Regions from separate parts of the Homo sapiens genome. Here regions 1, 2, 3, 4 and 6 are each linked to region 5. Evidence: promoter capture Hi-C in 16 types of primary human blood cells and fetal thymus (Javierre and others, 2016). All regions are on one chromosome and are shown on one strand. Each heading gives the region's core, a stretch centred on a gene start or on the middle of the fragment in contact. The rest is flanking DNA. Distances are from core to core; before and after follow the strand shown.

Evidence for each region. The method cuts DNA at HindIII sites, captures the fragments that hold promoters and counts their contacts. A CHiCAGO score of 5 or more calls a contact.
Region 1: a contact is called between a fragment that was not itself captured here and the fragment with the promoter of ABCC12 in region 5, in 1 of 17 cell types (erythroblasts). The highest score is 5.7, in erythroblasts.
Region 2: a contact is called between the fragment with the promoter of ITFG1 here and the fragment with the promoter of ABCC12 in region 5, in 1 of 17 cell types (M2 macrophages). The highest score is 6.1, in M2 macrophages.
Region 3: a fragment that was not itself captured here is called in contact with the fragment with the promoter of ABCC12 in region 5 in 1 of 17 cell types (total B cells); the score reaches 5.5 in total B cells.
Region 4: a fragment that was not itself captured here is called in contact with the fragment with the promoter of ABCC12 in region 5 in 16 of 17 cell types (total B cells, naive CD4 T cells, total CD8 T cells and 13 more); the score reaches 11.9 in total B cells.
Region 6: a contact is called between a fragment that was not itself captured here and the fragment with the promoter of ABCC12 in region 5, in 1 of 17 cell types (total B cells). The highest score is 5.5, in total B cells.

The regions. Positions count from the first base shown.
Region 1 is chr16:47,186,828-47,189,527 of GRCh38, forward strand. The region is part of intron 14 of ITFG1 (integrin alpha FG-GAP repeat containing 1); the gene reads right to left. Among named protein-coding and RNA genes, the nearest start is that of ITFG1-AS1, 44 kb to the left of the region's middle. The HindIII fragment of the contact is 3,704 bases long and covers 1-2,700 here.
Region 2 is chr16:47,459,682-47,462,381 of GRCh38, forward strand. It overlaps ITFG1 (integrin alpha FG-GAP repeat containing 1), which reads right to left and starts at 1,382. Exons shown (of 18, transcript NM_030790.5): 1 at 1,157-1,382. The coding sequence starts at 1,364. PHKB (phosphorylase kinase regulatory subunit beta) reads left to right here and starts at 1,650. Exons shown (of 31, transcript NM_000293.3): 1 at 1,650-1,745. The coding sequence starts at 1,670. RefSeq lists a silencer at 1,291-1,760. The HindIII fragment of the contact is 8,409 bases long and covers 1-2,700 here.
Region 3 is chr16:47,251,826-47,254,525 of GRCh38, forward strand. All of the region lies in intron 12 of ITFG1 (integrin alpha FG-GAP repeat containing 1), which reads right to left. Among named protein-coding and RNA genes, the nearest start is that of ITFG1-AS2, 20 kb to the right of the region's middle. The HindIII fragment of the contact is 1,100 bases long and covers 883-1,982 here.
Region 4 is chr16:47,163,019-47,165,718 of GRCh38, forward strand. The region is part of intron 14 of ITFG1 (integrin alpha FG-GAP repeat containing 1); the gene reads right to left. Among named protein-coding and RNA genes, the nearest start is that of ITFG1-AS1, 20 kb to the left of the region's middle. The HindIII fragment of the contact is 3,933 bases long and covers 1-2,700 here.
Region 5 is chr16:48,154,719-48,157,418 of GRCh38, forward strand. It overlaps ABCC12 (ATP binding cassette subfamily C member 12), which reads right to left and starts at 1,275. Exons shown (of 31, transcript NM_001393797.1): 1 at 1,123-1,275. The HindIII fragment of the contact is 11,154 bases long and covers 1,115-2,700 here.
Region 6 is chr16:47,203,364-47,206,063 of GRCh38, forward strand. All of the region lies in intron 14 of ITFG1 (integrin alpha FG-GAP repeat containing 1), which reads right to left. Among named protein-coding and RNA genes, the nearest start is that of ITFG1-AS1, 61 kb to the left of the region's middle. The HindIII fragment of the contact is 492 bases long and covers 1,035-1,526 here.

The DNA of each region.
Region 1 (2,700 bases), core at 175-2,674, 970 kb before region 5:
TTTGCAGACGACATGACTGTATATCTAGAAAATCCCATTGTCTCAGCCCAAAATCTCCTTAAGCTGATAAGCAACTTCAGCAAAGTCTCAGGATACAAAATCAATGTACAAAAATCACAAGCATTCTTATACACCAGTAACAGACAAACAGAGAGCCAAATCATGAGTGAACTCCCATTCACAATTGCTTCAAAGAGAATCAAATACCTAGGAATCCAACTTACAAGGGATGTGAAGGACCTCTTCAAGGAGAACTACAAACCACTGCTCAAGGAAATAAAAGAGGATACAAACAAATGGAAGAACATTCCATGCTCATGGGTAGGAAGAATAAATATTGTGAAAATGGCCATACTGCCCAAGGTAATTTACAGATTCAATGCCATCCCCATCAAGCTACCAATGACTTTCTTCACAGAATTGGAAAAAACTACTTTAACGTTCATATGGAAACAAAAAAGAGCCCGCATCGCCAAGTCAATCCTAAGCCAAAAGAACAAAGCTGGAGGCATCATGCTACCTGACTTCAAACTATACTACAAGGCTACAGTAACCAAAACAGCATGGTACTGGTACCAAAACAGAGATATAGATCAATGGAACAGAACAGAGCCCTCAGAAATAATGCCGCATATCTACAACTATCTCATCTTTGACAAACCTGAGAAAAACAAGCAATGGGGAAAGGATTCCCTATTTAATAAATGGTGCTGGGAAAACTGGCTAGCCATATTTAGAAAGCTGAAACTGGATCCCTTCCTTACACCTTATACAAAAATCAATTCAAGATGGATTAAAGACTTAAACATTAGACCTAAAACCATAAAAACCCTAGAAGAAAACCTAGGCATTACCATTCAGGACATAGGCATGGGCAAGCACTTCCTGTCTAAAACACCAAAAGCAATGGCAACAAAAGCCAAAATTGACAAATGGGATCTAATTAAACCAAAGAGCTTCTGCACAGCAAAAGAAACTACCATCAGAGTGAACAGGCAACCTACAAAATGGGAGAAAATCTTCGCAACCTACTCATCTGACAAAGGGCTAATATCCAGAATCTACAATGAACTCAAACAAATTTACAAGAAAAAAACAAACAACCACATCAAAAAGTGGGCGAAGGACATGAACAGACACTTCTCAAAAGAAGACATTTATGCAGCCAAAAAACACATGAAAAAATGCTCATCATCACTGGCTATCAGAGAAATGCAAATCAAAACCACAGTGAGATACCATCTCACACCAGTTAGAATGGCAATCATTAAAAAGTCAGGAAACAACAGGTGCTGGAGAGGATGTGGAGAAATAGGAACACTTTTACACTGTTGGTGGGACTGTAAACTAGTTCAACCATTGTGGAAGTCAGTGTGGCGATTCCTCAGGGATCTAGAACTAGAAATACCATTTGACCCAGCCGTCCCATTACTGGGTATATACCCAAAGGACTATAAATCATGCTACTATAAAGACACATGTGCACGTATGTTTATTGCGGCATTATTCACTATAGCAAAGACTTGGAACCAACCCAAATGTCCAACAATGATAGACTGGATTAAGAAAATGTGGCACATATACACCATGGAATACTATGCAGTCATAAAAAATGATGAGTTCATGTCCTTTGTAGGGACATGGATGAAATTGGAAATCATCATTCTCAGTAAACTATTGCAAGAACAAAAAACCAAACACCGCATATTCTCACTCATAGGTGGGAATTGAACAATGAGAACACATGGACAGAGGAAGGGAAACATCATACTCTGGGGACTGTTGTGGGGTGGGGGGAGGGGGGAGGGGGGAGGGATAGCATTGGGAGATATACCTAATGCTAGATGACGAGTTAGTGGGTGCAGCGCATCAGCATGTCACATGTATACATACGTAACTAACCTGCACATTGTGCACATGTACCCTAAAACTTAAAGTATAATAAGAAAAAAAAAATACAAAAAAAGTGCTTTGTAAACTACAAAGCAGTGCAGTGGCGCTATCTTGGCTCACTGCAACCTCCACTTCCTGGGTTTAAGCGATGCTCCTGCCTTAGCCTCCCAAGTAGCTGGGATTAGAAGTGTGTGCCACCATGCCCAGCTAATTTTTGTATTTTTAGTAGAGGCAGGGTTTTGCCATGTTGGCCAAGCTGGTCTTGAACTCCCAACCTCAGTGATCCACCTGCCTCAGCCTTCTAAAGTGCTGGGATTACAGGCTTTAGCCACCACACCCAGCCCCATAAACAGTTTTTAATGAAGGTTCTTCTAATTTCTTTTTTGGAATAAATGAAGAAATTGGAACCCTGGTTCAAGCTCTTGTCAGCCTACTTCCCAGTTATACATTTAGAATGTGAGTAGTTTTTATGTTTCTTCTTTTGTGTTAAATTGGTATATAATTCACATACCACAAAACCCACCAGTTTACAGTGTACAATTCAGTGGTTTTTAGTACACTGACAAGGCTGTGCAACTGACACCAATTCCAGAATATTTTCATTACCACAAAAAAAACCCCACACCCAAGAGCACTTAGTTCCCATTTCTTCCTCCCTCCAGCCCCTGGTAACCACTACTGTCCTTTCTACCTCTATGAAGTTGCCTATTCTGGACCTTTCATATAAATGAAGTTGGACAATATGTGGCCTTTTGTGTCTGGCTGTATTCGCTTAGAATAGTTTAGTATGGTTCATCATATTGTTGC
Region 2 (2,700 bases), core at 132-2,631, 690 kb before region 5:
CATCCTCCAGAGGGTGACACATTCTTGGAGCTCAATTAGCACTCATTGAGACAGACTTTTGGAATTGTTTAATCAAACACAGGCCATCTTTAAAGTCAAGGCTACTCTCTGTATCCAGTTTGGACACAGCAGCAACAGGTTTGGCAGTACACTGCAAAATGAGGAGTCAAAAAGATTGGGAAAATATTCAGGGTTTGTAAGAGGTTCCTGCATCCCCGCAAGGGCTCCAAGAAGTCTGGTTCAGGATCCTGTCAGGCAAGCTCTGAGTAGCTCTTCCTTCCTTCCTTCACAGCATTGATCTTTAAGCAGCACCTGCTTCTGTAGGTACTCAAGAACCCTAAGACCCCCTAATGCCCACTGTCAGCATCAAGATTTACAAAAAAGTTAGTTTAACGATTGTCAAAGCAAAGAATTTCCAAGAACAAGTTAGCAAAGAAAGTAGACATTTGGAACACTAAGGTGATGACCAAGATGAGGAAGGAGTACACGAAAGAACAGGCAGCTCAAGAGAGAAATTTCTGTAGTTTGAGACTGCTTTCCCAAGGAGGCATTGGGTTTATCAGTGGTCCCTGCAAAATGCTTGTGTGAGCTGTTTAGTGTTTAGGCCCTTGGAAGGGTACATTCGCTTCATAGAAAGTTGTGGCCTTGACAAAGAAAGGGGTGGGCGAATTAGGTAGGTGGGGAGGCAAGAAGAAGCCCCCTATGAGAAGAGATTGTCAGGTTGCACCTTTTCATGTTCATCAACGGGGAAGGAAGACTGAAGCAAAATAGAAAGGAATGAGTGGGCCTTGGGAGCGAACGTTGAGGCAAGCTACAAAGATTCCTAGGAATCAGGAAGCACTTTGGAAAACAGGTGATTCCATGGGGAGGAGGGGGTAAGGTGACTGGGTGAGGGCCGCAGACTTCTTAGGAACAAAACTGAGGTGCTGTCAGGGCTTTTGAGGGTAGGTCAAACTGTAGGGTAGCTGGGTCAGAACCTGGGGTTGGAAAGGGTGGTGCAAAAGGACAAGCTGTTAAGAATGCTAAAGGGAAGGCCACAGGGCTGGGAGAGAAGGACCAGGAAATGCAGAAGGACCGGCCATTGGGCAATGGGTTTGGGGAACACCGGGAGAGGCACACGGACAGCGAACAGAGGGAGGGCCCGGCAAGCACTGACTTTCCCGCAGCACGAAGAGATCCGTCTGCTTGTCGGAGTTGAGGTCCCCGAAAGCCGCAAGGGTGCCCCAGGCCTCGGCCCCAAAGAGCTCGGCCGTGACGTTGTGCAGCGCCCGCGCTGGGACCGGCCCGACTCCCAGTAGTGCAAGCCCTGCGAGGAGCGGCGAGAAGAGGGCCCAGGAGCTCGGGAGCCGGCCCGCCGCCGCCATGGCAGCCCCTCAGCCCCCGCCCGCCGGCCCAACGCCGCGCTTGACGACAGCCGCAAAGCACCGCGTTACCGGCCGAGAGAGTGGCGCGCAGCCCCGGGACGCGTAAGAGCCGCTGCCGGCTCCTTTTTCTCTCTCCCACTAGGGCTGCCCTTCCGACGCTAAAAAAGCAGTGGAGCTAGGGTGAAAGCCGCCCTCACGCTCACTTCCGGCAGGCGCGCCTCCCGACAGTGTCGTGCGGGGGGCGTGGCCCGGCATTGCTGACAGGCGGCCCCGGGGGCGGTGGCCAAGGCGGCGACCGGAGCGCGATGGCGGGGGCGGCGGGACTCACGGCAGAAGTGAGCTGGAAGGTCTTGGAGCGAAGAGCTCGGACCAAGCGCTCAGGTTTGGCTGGCTGGGGCGCCGCCCCCCACCCGAGTACCTTGGGTGGTGCTTCGCCTCAAGCGCCTTGGCGGGAGGCAGGTGGGGGCCCTGGGAATGAACCTGTGCCCCGAGTTCCTCCTTAGAAAGCAGGTGGCGGCCCTGGCCTTGTTTCTAATATCTTCCTCCACCTCTAAAAATTAGGTGGCAGAGCCAGCTCCACTCTGCGTGTGCCCCCGACTCTATTCCGCTTGTGAGCCCCACTCGGAAAGTAGGCAGCGGTCCGGACTTCCCTTAGAGTCTTCTAACTTAAAAATCGGGCGGCGGCACATTCCTGGGAAAGGGAATGTGTCTTCCCTGTGAATGTGTCTTTCCTGTGAATGTTCTCTGCAAAAGTCAGATAGCTTAATCAGACCAAGTCAGATGTAACTACGATCTGGCTGCAGAAAGCCGGCGTCTGGGCTCCTTGCTTTATGTCTTATATCCCTTTTACATTCCCCACAGGTTCTAAGCAGTAGACCTGTCATCTATCTAGCAGAAACTGAAGGAGACTGGGCCTCAGATATTGAAGAGTATAGTTAGGGCCCAGAAAGAAAAGGGCTTCTTAAGTGGCCCCAGGTTGTGTGGTTTCCAAACCCGAAAGCATAGAGGTCAGAAGGTGCCTTGCAGGCAGTTTTAACAGTTCCAAGTGTCCCGAACTGACTTGTTCAAATTGCAACGTCATGACTTGTGGCGTTATTAAAACTTCCTGTATTCCTGGTTGGCTGGATATAATCTTGAACAAAAGGCATGCACTTAAACAGGAAAGGTGAAAGGCGGAATGCAGGTTTTCAGCTAAGGAGCTTCCCTTTTAAAGAATTGATGAAGTGTCATTATTGGGGGTGGGTGTGAAAGGTGTTAGCTAGGAAAATTAACTTTGCACTTGCATTGATATTAAGAAATTATTTTCGGACGGGCGCGGTGGCTCACGCCTGTAATC
Region 3 (2,700 bases), core at 183-2,682, 900 kb before region 5:
AATAAAAGTTATGTGAATGTAGTTTTTCACTCTGAAAATATTTTCTTGTACTGTACTCACATCTTTTCAGAATACAGTTGACTATGGGTAACTAAAACCACAGAAAGTGAAACTGTGGATAAGTGGGGACTACGCTATATGCAAGAAGAAAATAGAGCAATGTTTATAAAATTCTGTAATAGCGAACTTAGTGTTAACAGTAAGAGCAAGAGAAAGATATTTTAAGACATACTAGTACTCAGAAAATATATTAACCTAAGTACAATTTTTCTGAAAATAACTTGAGAAAATACTTCACCAAAAGAAATAGGGGAAAATGTGGTGTATAAGAAAAAAGGTGGCAATAAGGCTGGTAAAATTTGTTTATTACTGATAATATGGTTGTGAATTATTAAGAAAGGATTTATAAAATGGAAGGCACAAAAAGTAAAACAAAATTAATCATCCAGAAATTAAACTTCCATATTATTTCAACAAAACCCAGAGGCAGGCAAGGGGAATAAAAGCTTTCCCATTAAGTATCTGCTTTTGGAGAAAAAAGAAAAAAGAAAGCTTTCCCAAAGGAAAGGTCTCATCTTGTTTGGTAAACAAAGGTGAAGATACTGTTACAATTTTAAAAGTCCTAGGGGAAACAGGGTTCATCCAGGTTTGTTAGAAATGAGTTAAGTTCTAGACTAGAATTAAGATTCAGAACCTCCAAGTGTATCTGACAGGAATAACAATAAAAGATGAGAGCTAGTAACTAGTCTTGATTCAGGGGAGAGGGGACCCCACAATTCTGTAATACGCAAGGTCCCCGTCTTCATGTAAGTGCTGTGGATCTGCTGTGCTGTGCGTAAGAGAAGCAGAAGGGCAGTTTACATTGCCATGGCCACATATAAAAGCTTAAGTATCCCCAATTTCCTTAACTGAAAAACAGTGGCATTTAGTATAGGCTGGTTTGAGATTAGAGTAACAGAATAATTTAAGAGCAAAATCAGCTGTGGACATTGCCGATGGCTGTGAAGGGTAATTACGTGCTAGTAACTGACTTAAGGCAAACAACCGATAATCAAAGGAAAGAGTGGAAGGGCATCTCAAAACAACTAGAAGGTTATTTTTCTTCCAAATGATTGCTTTAAATTGGGATCTCATTTCCTGTGACCTTTCTGTAAATTACATTATTAATATTTATGTTAATATCTTTAATGCAAAGTTATCCTGTTTTCTAAAACTAAAACCTCCTGCACCAAATTGGCTATCTATGGGTCTCAGCTTGGAGATGTGTGGAGAATCCTCTCCTCAGGATAATGTTACTGAGACTGCAGGGTGACTTGTCCTGATTTAGGGTGGTAAGTTGAAGGCCAGGGATTCTTAAACTCCAGATTAGAGATTCTCAAGACTCTCTTCAGTTTTCTGTTTTAACTTTTTACTACAGAACATTTCAAACAAAAGTATAAACATATATAAAACTGAAAATAGCAGAATGAACCTCACACACATTTCTCACAATTTGAAAAACTGTCAACAACACATGGCCAACCTTGTTTCATGTATACCTAGCTTCCACATCCCTGGATTACTTTAAAGAAGGGCTCAGACATGTCATTTCACTGTCAGGTAGTTTGCTGTCTCACTATTTAATGATGTAAAGGCTACATTTTCCTGAGCAGGACCATGATGTGTTCTGAGTATTCTGTTATTATGATTATAAGTTAGGGCAGTGGTCCCCAACCTTTCTGGCACCACAGATGGGTTTTGCAGAAGAAGGGCAATTTTTTCACAGATGGGGGTTAGATGGGTGATGGTTTCAGGATTGTTCCACCTCAGATCATCAGGCATTAGTTAGATTCTCATAAGGAGCACACAACCTAGATCCCTCACATGTGCAGTTCACAATAGGCGTCGTGCTCCTATGAGAATCTAATGCTACTGCTGCTCTGACAGGAGACAGAGCTCAGGCGGTAATGCCAGTGATGGGGTGTGGCTATAAATACAGGGGAAGCTTTGCTCGCCCTCCGGCCGTTCACCTCCTGTCGTGCGGCCTGGTTCCTAATAGGTCTCAGACTAGTACTGGTCTGCAGCCTGGGGTTTGGGACCCCTGCGTTAGGGTGTGCTTTAACAATAAAAACTAGAGTAATTTTATTGGAACAATTTTTAAAAAATTCAACAGATACCTATAAAGGGCCTACTATACACCAGACATGAGTATCAATGGACAGAACTAACTAAATATGCACATTTTGACTTGAGTTTTCTAACAACTAAACTGATCATAAAAGAAGTCTGTGTTGCATTATGAGGAGGTGAGGTCTCCTTTAGTACAAAGCATTCAAGCAGAAGCTAAGATGTTGCATTAGGTTAGACTTGGGCAAGATGCCTTTTGAGATTTTCCCCATCTCTAATATCTTGTTTTTGTAATTAAAAAAAATGTAAATGAATAAATGCCAAGGAAGAACTTGGGACCCTAAATTATATGCATACATTTTCCCACGTGGATAATTTCTAAATGATCAATATAAAAAAAGTCAGACCTTCTTTTGCCTCACCCTGAGAACTGCCTACTCTCTTTAGCATATTATTATTATTATTATTATTATTACAACTGGGAATTGGAATATCTTATCAATGTTACAAAAACCCTATGCTCTGATTCCCATCCGTTCTACCTGGCTGGGGACCTCTGTGCGAGGGAAGAACTTGCAGACTTGAGCATGGAAA
Region 4 (2,700 bases), core at 73-2,572, 990 kb before region 5:
CTTGAACTCCTGGGCTCAAGTGATCCCCCTGCCTCGGGCTCTCAAAATGCTGGGATTACAGGCGTGACCCACCGTGCTCAGCCAATGATTCACTTTTTAAAGAAAACAGCGTTACTGAGATATAATTCACATACCATACACATCACCCGTTTAAAGTGTACAGTTAAGTGGTTTTGAGTATATTCAAAGAATTGTTCAGCCATCACCACAATCTAATCTTAGAACATTTTTATCACTTGAGAAAGAAACTCCATACACATGAGAAGCCATGTCTGTTTCCAACCTGCACACTTCCAGCTGTATGTAATCACTAATCTGCTTTCTGACTCAATAGATTTGCCTATTCTGAAGATTTCATATAAATGCAATCATACAATGTGGTCTTTTGTGACTGGCTTCTTTCACTTAGCATGTTTTCAAGGTTCATCTATATGGTAGCATGTTTCCATACTTTATTACTGTTACTTGCCAAATAATACTCCACTTTGTTATATATACATTTTGTTTCATTAATTAATTTCATTAATTGATGGACATTTCAGTCATTTCCATTTTTGGTTACTATGAAAATACTGCTGTGAACATTCATATACAGGTTTATTTTTGTATTCACTCTTGTTTTCCTTTCTTTTGATTATGTAGCTAAGTGTTTAACATCATTAGGAACTATCGAACTGTTTCCAAAGTACCTGCACCATTTTATGTTCCCACCAGCAATGGATAATGGTTCAAATTTTTCCACATCCTCAATAACACTTTTTGTTGTGTCTTTTGTATTATAGCCATGCTCATGGTTGTGAAGTGGTATCTCATTATGGTTTTTACTTGCATTTCCCAAATGACTAATAGTTATTAGCCATGAAAATGGTCAATAAACACGTGAAAGAAGCTCAACTACACACACACACACACACACACACACACACACACACACATACACACACACACACACCAATTAAGTAAAGCATCTGGCCCTGTAGGCACATTTTCTGTTGTCTTTTTATTTTTTTAAAGAGATGTGTATTAGCCTACTTTCCTGTTTCTTTGTATGTCTTATAATTTTTGTTGAAAACTGGACTTTTAAGATAATATTGATAACTCTGGTATCGCTTAACCCCACCCAAGGGTTTGTTGTTTTGTTACTGTTTATTTGTTTAGTGACTTTTTTTTTTTTTTCATGTAGTGAATTCTGTGGATTCTGTATTCCCTGCAGCAGTTGCCCCAGGGTCTTTTTAATTTTTATTTTTAAAGTTTTTATTCTACATCTGGCTTCCTACTTGGCATACCTGGGTCAGTATTATTTAGTGGTCAGCCAGTGATTTGTTGTAAGATTTCCCTAAATCTCTTGCCTGTACATCTCCCACCCTTTGTCAAAGTGATTTGTGTGTGAAGGCATGCCTTCAAAGTTCAGAAAATGACAGCCTTAGTTTTCATTTCCTGCTTACGCAGGGCTTCATGGTGAAGCAGAAGGGAGCTGATTATTTGAATGAGGTGTTTTCCTTTCTAGGAATTTGCAAAGTCTTCTAGATCCCCAAAAATATGTTGTAGCTTTTCAAAGCTGCGTATGTTTTCCAGTTTTCTAAGAATTCCTCTTATATTTTGATCAGGATCTTGTTTCCTCCACCTTTAATCACATGCTTAGGTAGCTGAGATGTTGCCAGCAGATTACTGTTGTTTTTGGTAATGCCCTAGTCAAATGAAATAGCCAAGATGCTGAGAATGAAGATTTTCCAGGGAGCTGCTAGTTCAGACAAAATGTTGATAGTAATAGGGATGGAGATTTTCATGCAGCTCCAAGGAGGTCAGTCATATCCATTGGCTGTGAAGCCGCTGGCTTTCCATGGCTACTGCACTACTCAGTTGAGAAGGGGGGCAGGATGGGAATTGCTCCAAGATAAAAATGCCATAGATTCGGTGTCTTATCAAGGATCAGTAGTTTTCCTTAGAATAGACAATACTCAGTCCATTCTGTGGCTTTGGTTAATTTCCAGAGTTCTGAAATGGTGGATATTATATGGTTGGCCAGTATTTTTGTTGTTGTTCTTTTTGGGGGCTCTGGGAGAGCAAGTTCATGTGGTCCTCACACTGCCATTCCAATAGTCAATCTTTCCCTATTGTAATTCACTTTTATACAATATATGTATTTTCTAGGTATTTTTCTACATGCTTAAACTTAACATTTAAATGACAAAGTTAATTAATATATAAATATTTTAATATTCAAGGGGACTCTGCTAAACATCACTAATGTTATCCAAAAATATGCAATCACTGGAAAGTATATTTACCTGATTATTTATATAGTTCTTAAGTTGGAAACAGTAAGGTATAATGAAAAGGAACATGAATTTAAGGATAGGCATTAACAATGTGTATGAAACTGGAAAACAGTATAGTGAACAGCATGGGCTGCAGAATTAGTCCACCTTGTGGAATTGAGCTGATTGAAAGATAATGTTTAAAAGTAGAGTATCTCACATAGTAAATAATAATGTTAGCTATCTTTATTAAGATAAAATTTATTCTTACAGAGTTGAATTAAAAATTAAAAGCAGGCCATTTATGCCTGTCATCCCAGCACTCTGGGAGGCCAAGGCAGGTGGATTGCTTGAGCTCAGGACTTTTCAGACCAGCCTGGGCAATGTGGTGAAGCCCCACCTCTACAAAAAATACAAAAATTAGCCAGGCATGGTGGCATGT
Region 5 (2,700 bases), core at 25-2,524:
CTGCCCCTGTCTAGCCCAGAAAATTAACAACTTTATGTTTGAGAACTGGACTCTGGGTCTTCCTTGGTGCTCATGATGGGAGTTCCTCCATCAACCAAAAGCAGGCACACCTTTAGTCATAAAATTTTTCCCAGGTATGAGACTACAGCCCTACTTCTTTCTTAATAAATCCATTGTTAATTTAAAGCCACCAAAGTTATCAATATCTGATGGTCTCCCCCAACTCCCACAGCCCCTTCCTCCAGGGCCTGACTGGCCTCCAGCACAGAGGAGACACTGGGGAGCTCTCCCAGGCCCTGCCTGCACCGCACCTCTCCTGTCTGTCCCCAGGTCCCAGGCACCTGTGGCAGCCAGATCAGAAAGCCCTGTGAGTGATGAGGGACTGGGGTTGGGAGGCAGGGAGAGGCAGAGAGGTGGCAGAGGGAAGTGCATGCAGGGGACAGCACCAAGCTGGGGGTGTGGGAAGGGAAGTGGGGGTGCTTTTGCTCAAGTACCCTCATCTCCCAGAAGGCCTAAAACAGTGGCCAGTGATGGCATCTCCAAAAGAGGTCATCCATCCAGTTACAGACACATTCCGACACGATCAAAGAAGGATGCAGAGCCTGGATTCAGAGCAATTCAAATCTACCCTCCCAGGAAAATAATATATTTAAAAGTTAAAAAAAAAAAAAAAAGAAAGAAAGATGAAAACCTCATATGAGAACTGCAGTAAAGCTTTCCAGGTCTTTTTTTTTGGGGGGGAGGTATAAATCCCATAATTAAATTGTGAACACTACCCTGTATATGTGTTTGTGTTTGTGCATGTGTGGGAAAAGACTTAAAATATTCAATGTAGGCTTTTGTATTTCAGAGATTTTGAAATCGCGTCTTGGCATTTCTGCCTTTTCTTTTATGATAGCGGGGGCTCCAAAAGTGGAAGAGGGGCTGCCTTTCTTCTGGGAGCCTCGTCCCTGCTGCCTCCCACTTGGGCAGCCCCATTCAGTGGTGTCACCTCCCCCAAACCCCCCACCACACACACACACAGCCTGTCCTGAGGATGAGAAACAAAGGCCCTTGGGACTAAATGGTGGCCACTAATTGTTACAGGGAGAAGCTTTACCTGGGCTGGAAATGAAGCTTTACCTGGGCTGAGGATGAGAGGGAGGGGAGGAGGGTCAGCAGTCATGGGGCTCAGAGCCTGGCATCTGCTGCCCAGGACTCCAGGGCCTGCTTCTCCCCAAGGACCTCAGATTCAGTTTCTCTTGTCCCACCCGCCTGAAGTCCTCCTCTCCAACTGCCCCATTCAACTGCCACTCCCACCACACCTGAGAGGGAACTCTGGCGGGCCAACATTCCCTCTGCCCACATTAAAGGGCTCTCCCCTCTTCCAGGATGGCCTGTGGCCGGGTCTGGCTCTTTGGTGACAGTCAGAGCCCATGCATGAAAGCACTGTGCATGGCCAGCCCTTCCCTGGCTGTCACAGCACATCCTTGTAGAAGAGAAGGAGAAAAATCCTCTCTCCAACCGTCATTCTACAGACGAGAAGCCCAAGGAACAGAAGCCTGTCCACGACTGGCGTGGGGCTGAGACCAGCACCCAGGTCCCCTGAGTCCCACTCCAGGCTCCTTCCTGAGAGAATGCATCGAATTTTCTACGCTGTGTTCCTGCAACCGGGAATCAACTTTGGGATCAGGGGAAGGGAAGGGAGGGGAGGGGAGGGCAGGGGTAGGGGAGGGCAGGGGTAGGGGAGGGCAGGGGAGGCGAGGGGAGGGGAGATGAGCCTCATCTTCAAAACAGAAAATCTCATTCATTCATTCCCCATTCATTTAACGAAAAAGAAAAGGGTAATTTGAGCTCAATTTGTCTTGAAATGAACGGAAGGTAAGTCTGAGACCTGCACTAGCAGCTAGCCCTTGCATAGAAAAGTTCCCCTGTGTCACCCTTGGAACCCTGCACATCCCGAGCGCAAGCGTGATTCCCGGGGTCCCTTCTGCGCCTGTCCCAGAACAAGCGCCCGATTTCAGGGGAGCCCAGCCGAAGGGTTCCACAGCGCTCAGCGAGCCGGCTGGGAGGGAGCAAACTCTCTAACTGCAGAAAAAAACAAATCTTGATTCCGCTTTAAGGGTTATTTAAACATCTTAGAGGACCTTCCCAGCCTCACGCACGTGGATTTCATGAGGAACTTGGCCGCTACCTTCTCCTGTCCTGCGCAATGCCGCCCCCTGCTGGCTGCCTTCCGGCCCCGCCGCTTCCTGGAGATGCGAATTCACCGCCTTTGCCCAACCTGAGTTCCCTTCCTACCTAGAGGGAGGTGGAAATGGAGAGGGGCTGTGGGCAGCTGTGTAGGAAAATGGGTCCTCCCAGGAAGGCTCCCCGGCCTGGGGAGTGAGCTAGACCGACAGCAGTTTCCTTACACGTGTCCAAAGTGTTCCATTTAATTTCCGTCCATTCTTCCCTTCATGAATGCAAATCACTGCTAATAATATCACTCGACATTTCTGGAGCCCTTTGTGTATCGCAAAATTCTTCATCCTCTTTATCACTTGATCTTCGCAACAACCCCGGGGGTCTCATAAACACAGCAAAGACTCGCTTCCACAATCTTCCAAACGGAGTCAAGTGCTGTCAAGTTTATGGAGGAAGAATGCCGATCAGTTTTCCTCTATCTCCATGAAAGGCTGGGCGGAGATGGATTTCCACCCAGACAAACAGTATTGGGCG
Region 6 (2,700 bases), core at 31-2,530, 950 kb before region 5:
GGGATGGTTTTGGGATGATTCAAGCACATTACATTTATTATGCACTTTATTTCTATTATTATTACATTGTAACATGTAATGAATTATACAACTCACCATAATGTAGAATCAGTGGGAGCCCTGAGCTTGTCTTCCTGCAACTAGACAGTCCCATCTGGGGGTGATGGGAGACAGTGACAGATCATCAGGCATAGATTCTCATAAGGAGCGTGCAGCCCAGATCCCTTACACGAACAGTTCACAATAGGGTTCATGGTCCTGTGAGAATCTAATGCAGCGGCTGATCTGACAGGAGGCAGAGCTCAGGCTATAATGTGATTGATGGGGAGCAGCTGTAAATACAGATGAAGCTTTGCTTGCTCACCTGCTGCTCACCTCCTGCTATGTGGCCCGGTTCCTAACAGGCCATGGATTGGTACTGGTCTGTGGCCTGGGGGATGGGCACCCCTGACCTAGAGTACTCAGATTCATAGAGACTGAAGGTAGAATGGTACATGCCATGGGCTGGAGCAGGAGGGAAATGGGGAGTTAGCGTTTAATGGGTACAGAGTTTCAAGTCTGCAAGGTGAAGTGCTCTGGAGAGTAATGATGGTGATGGTTGCACACAGTGTGAATACACTTAGTACTACTGAACTGTATACTTAAAAATGGTTAAGATGATATATTTTATGTTTATATGTATTTCACCACAATTTAAAACAAAAATGAAAAGTCCCCACCCCTGCCAAATATGGTGGTGATGCTAAGAAAAACTGTCCATGGTCCCATATAAAAATGTAATTTTGTCCAATACATATATTATTAGCATTTTTATCCCCAGTAAAATCTTTCCATGGCATCTGACAGCCCACTTGTTATAGCTAAATTTTGTCAACCACACCTATACCAACCCTGCCGAAGATTCACCCTTGGTAACAAGCTTCCATAACAAAAATTTCAAAACAACTACTTTATGATTTCAAAGTTTGAATTTCTGTGAGTCATTCCTTCCCTCAGTGACTCCAACAGGTACCTTAAAACTAGCTGACTTTATAAGCTTAGAGTATTTCTAAGATACACATCATATTCCCTTTTCTTCCTAAACTGCTTCTAAAGATAATAAATTCAGCATTTTAGCTAATAGAAATGCTTTCGTATTTTGTTAGCTTTTGGTTTTTAAAACATTTGTTTTTATTTCTATTATAGCTCTTTTAACTATTTCTTGTCTGACTGTTATGCTAAGGAGGTATGCATACACACATCATTTGTACCAGGTGGTATTAAAAGTAAAATAAGGTTTAATGAACCACTGACAGGCAGAGCAGTAGCTGAATGCCTGGGTCCCTTTCCCCCTACCATCCTGTATTATTAAGGTGCATGCATCAACTGCAGCAGGATGCACCATGGAAAATACTCAAGTGCCCCAGTCTTTGTGGCATTTTAAATTTTATATGGACATTGGAAGAAGACTGGGAATATCTAGAAGACATGAGAGCTTCCTGGCTGAGAAAACTGTCTTTGTTAGAAAGGAGGAGTGTCAGGAACTAAGCTTCAATTATTAGGCTGTTGTATTCTCTAAACTCATATGCTGAGCCAGCACTTTGCTAAACTATCAAAAGACAGGTCCCAGGACCATCAGATGTACCTCTCCTGCCTCTCCAAATCTTTTCCTAATTCATCTGTCTGTTTACAATGCCACATGATGCCTGGCAAATAATACTACTATTTACATAGGAAGGTGGGAAGGATTTCCAAATATCCGTAGAAGTTTGGAATCATAGCTGAATATTCATAAGTTTATAAAGTTTTGTGATATTTGTGAGTTTTATAGTCTACATCAGGATTTCTCAAGTCAGCACTGTTGACATTTTGGGATGGATAATTTTTTGTTGAGGGAGCTGTTCTATCTGTTATAGTTTGCTTAGCAGCCTCCTGGCCTCTATCCACTAGATGCCAGTAGCACCCTCCCAGTTGTGACAATCAAAAATGCCTGCAGACATTGTCAAATGTCTCCCATGAGTCAAAATCACCCGATTGAGAACCACTGGTCCAAAGACAATTCGTACAAATTTTCAGACTCAGATTCTTAGTGCACTCAATGCAAGTCAGTGTATTTCTGAATCGGGATGAGAAAAAGTAAATTAGGGGGTAAAAACTCCTCATTTCCTGCATAATCAGCCTGGGAGAGGAGAAAAGGATCATTTTTATTGATCAAGGTTTTCTACGCTCTGTGATTATTCTAATAAAGTTATGAGCTTCTAGCCTTCTGAATAAATTTTCTGTGAAAGAAGTTATCTAACTACAGGAAGTAACCAGGCTTTCAGGATTGGAGCAACCAGTGAGAACTCCATACTTCAACAGACTTCATCCTAGGAACACACACAGAGATTGAACATCCACTCCGATCGTATCATCAACCAGTGTGCAATTCAGTTTAATTAATCAGAGTCATAGTTGTTTGTCAATTTCCCCAGCTGGAATTAAATTATCTATCTATCTATCTATCTATCTATCTATCTATCTATCTATCTATCTATCTATCTATCTGAGTCTAACTTTGTTGCCCAGGCTGGAGTGCAGTGGCATGATCTTGGCTCACTGCAACCTCTGCCTCCTGGGTTCATGCTACTCTCCTGCCTCAGCCCCCTGAGTAGCTGCGACTACAGGCGCCCGCCACCACGCCTGGCTAATTTTTATATTTTTAGTGGAGATGGGGTTTCA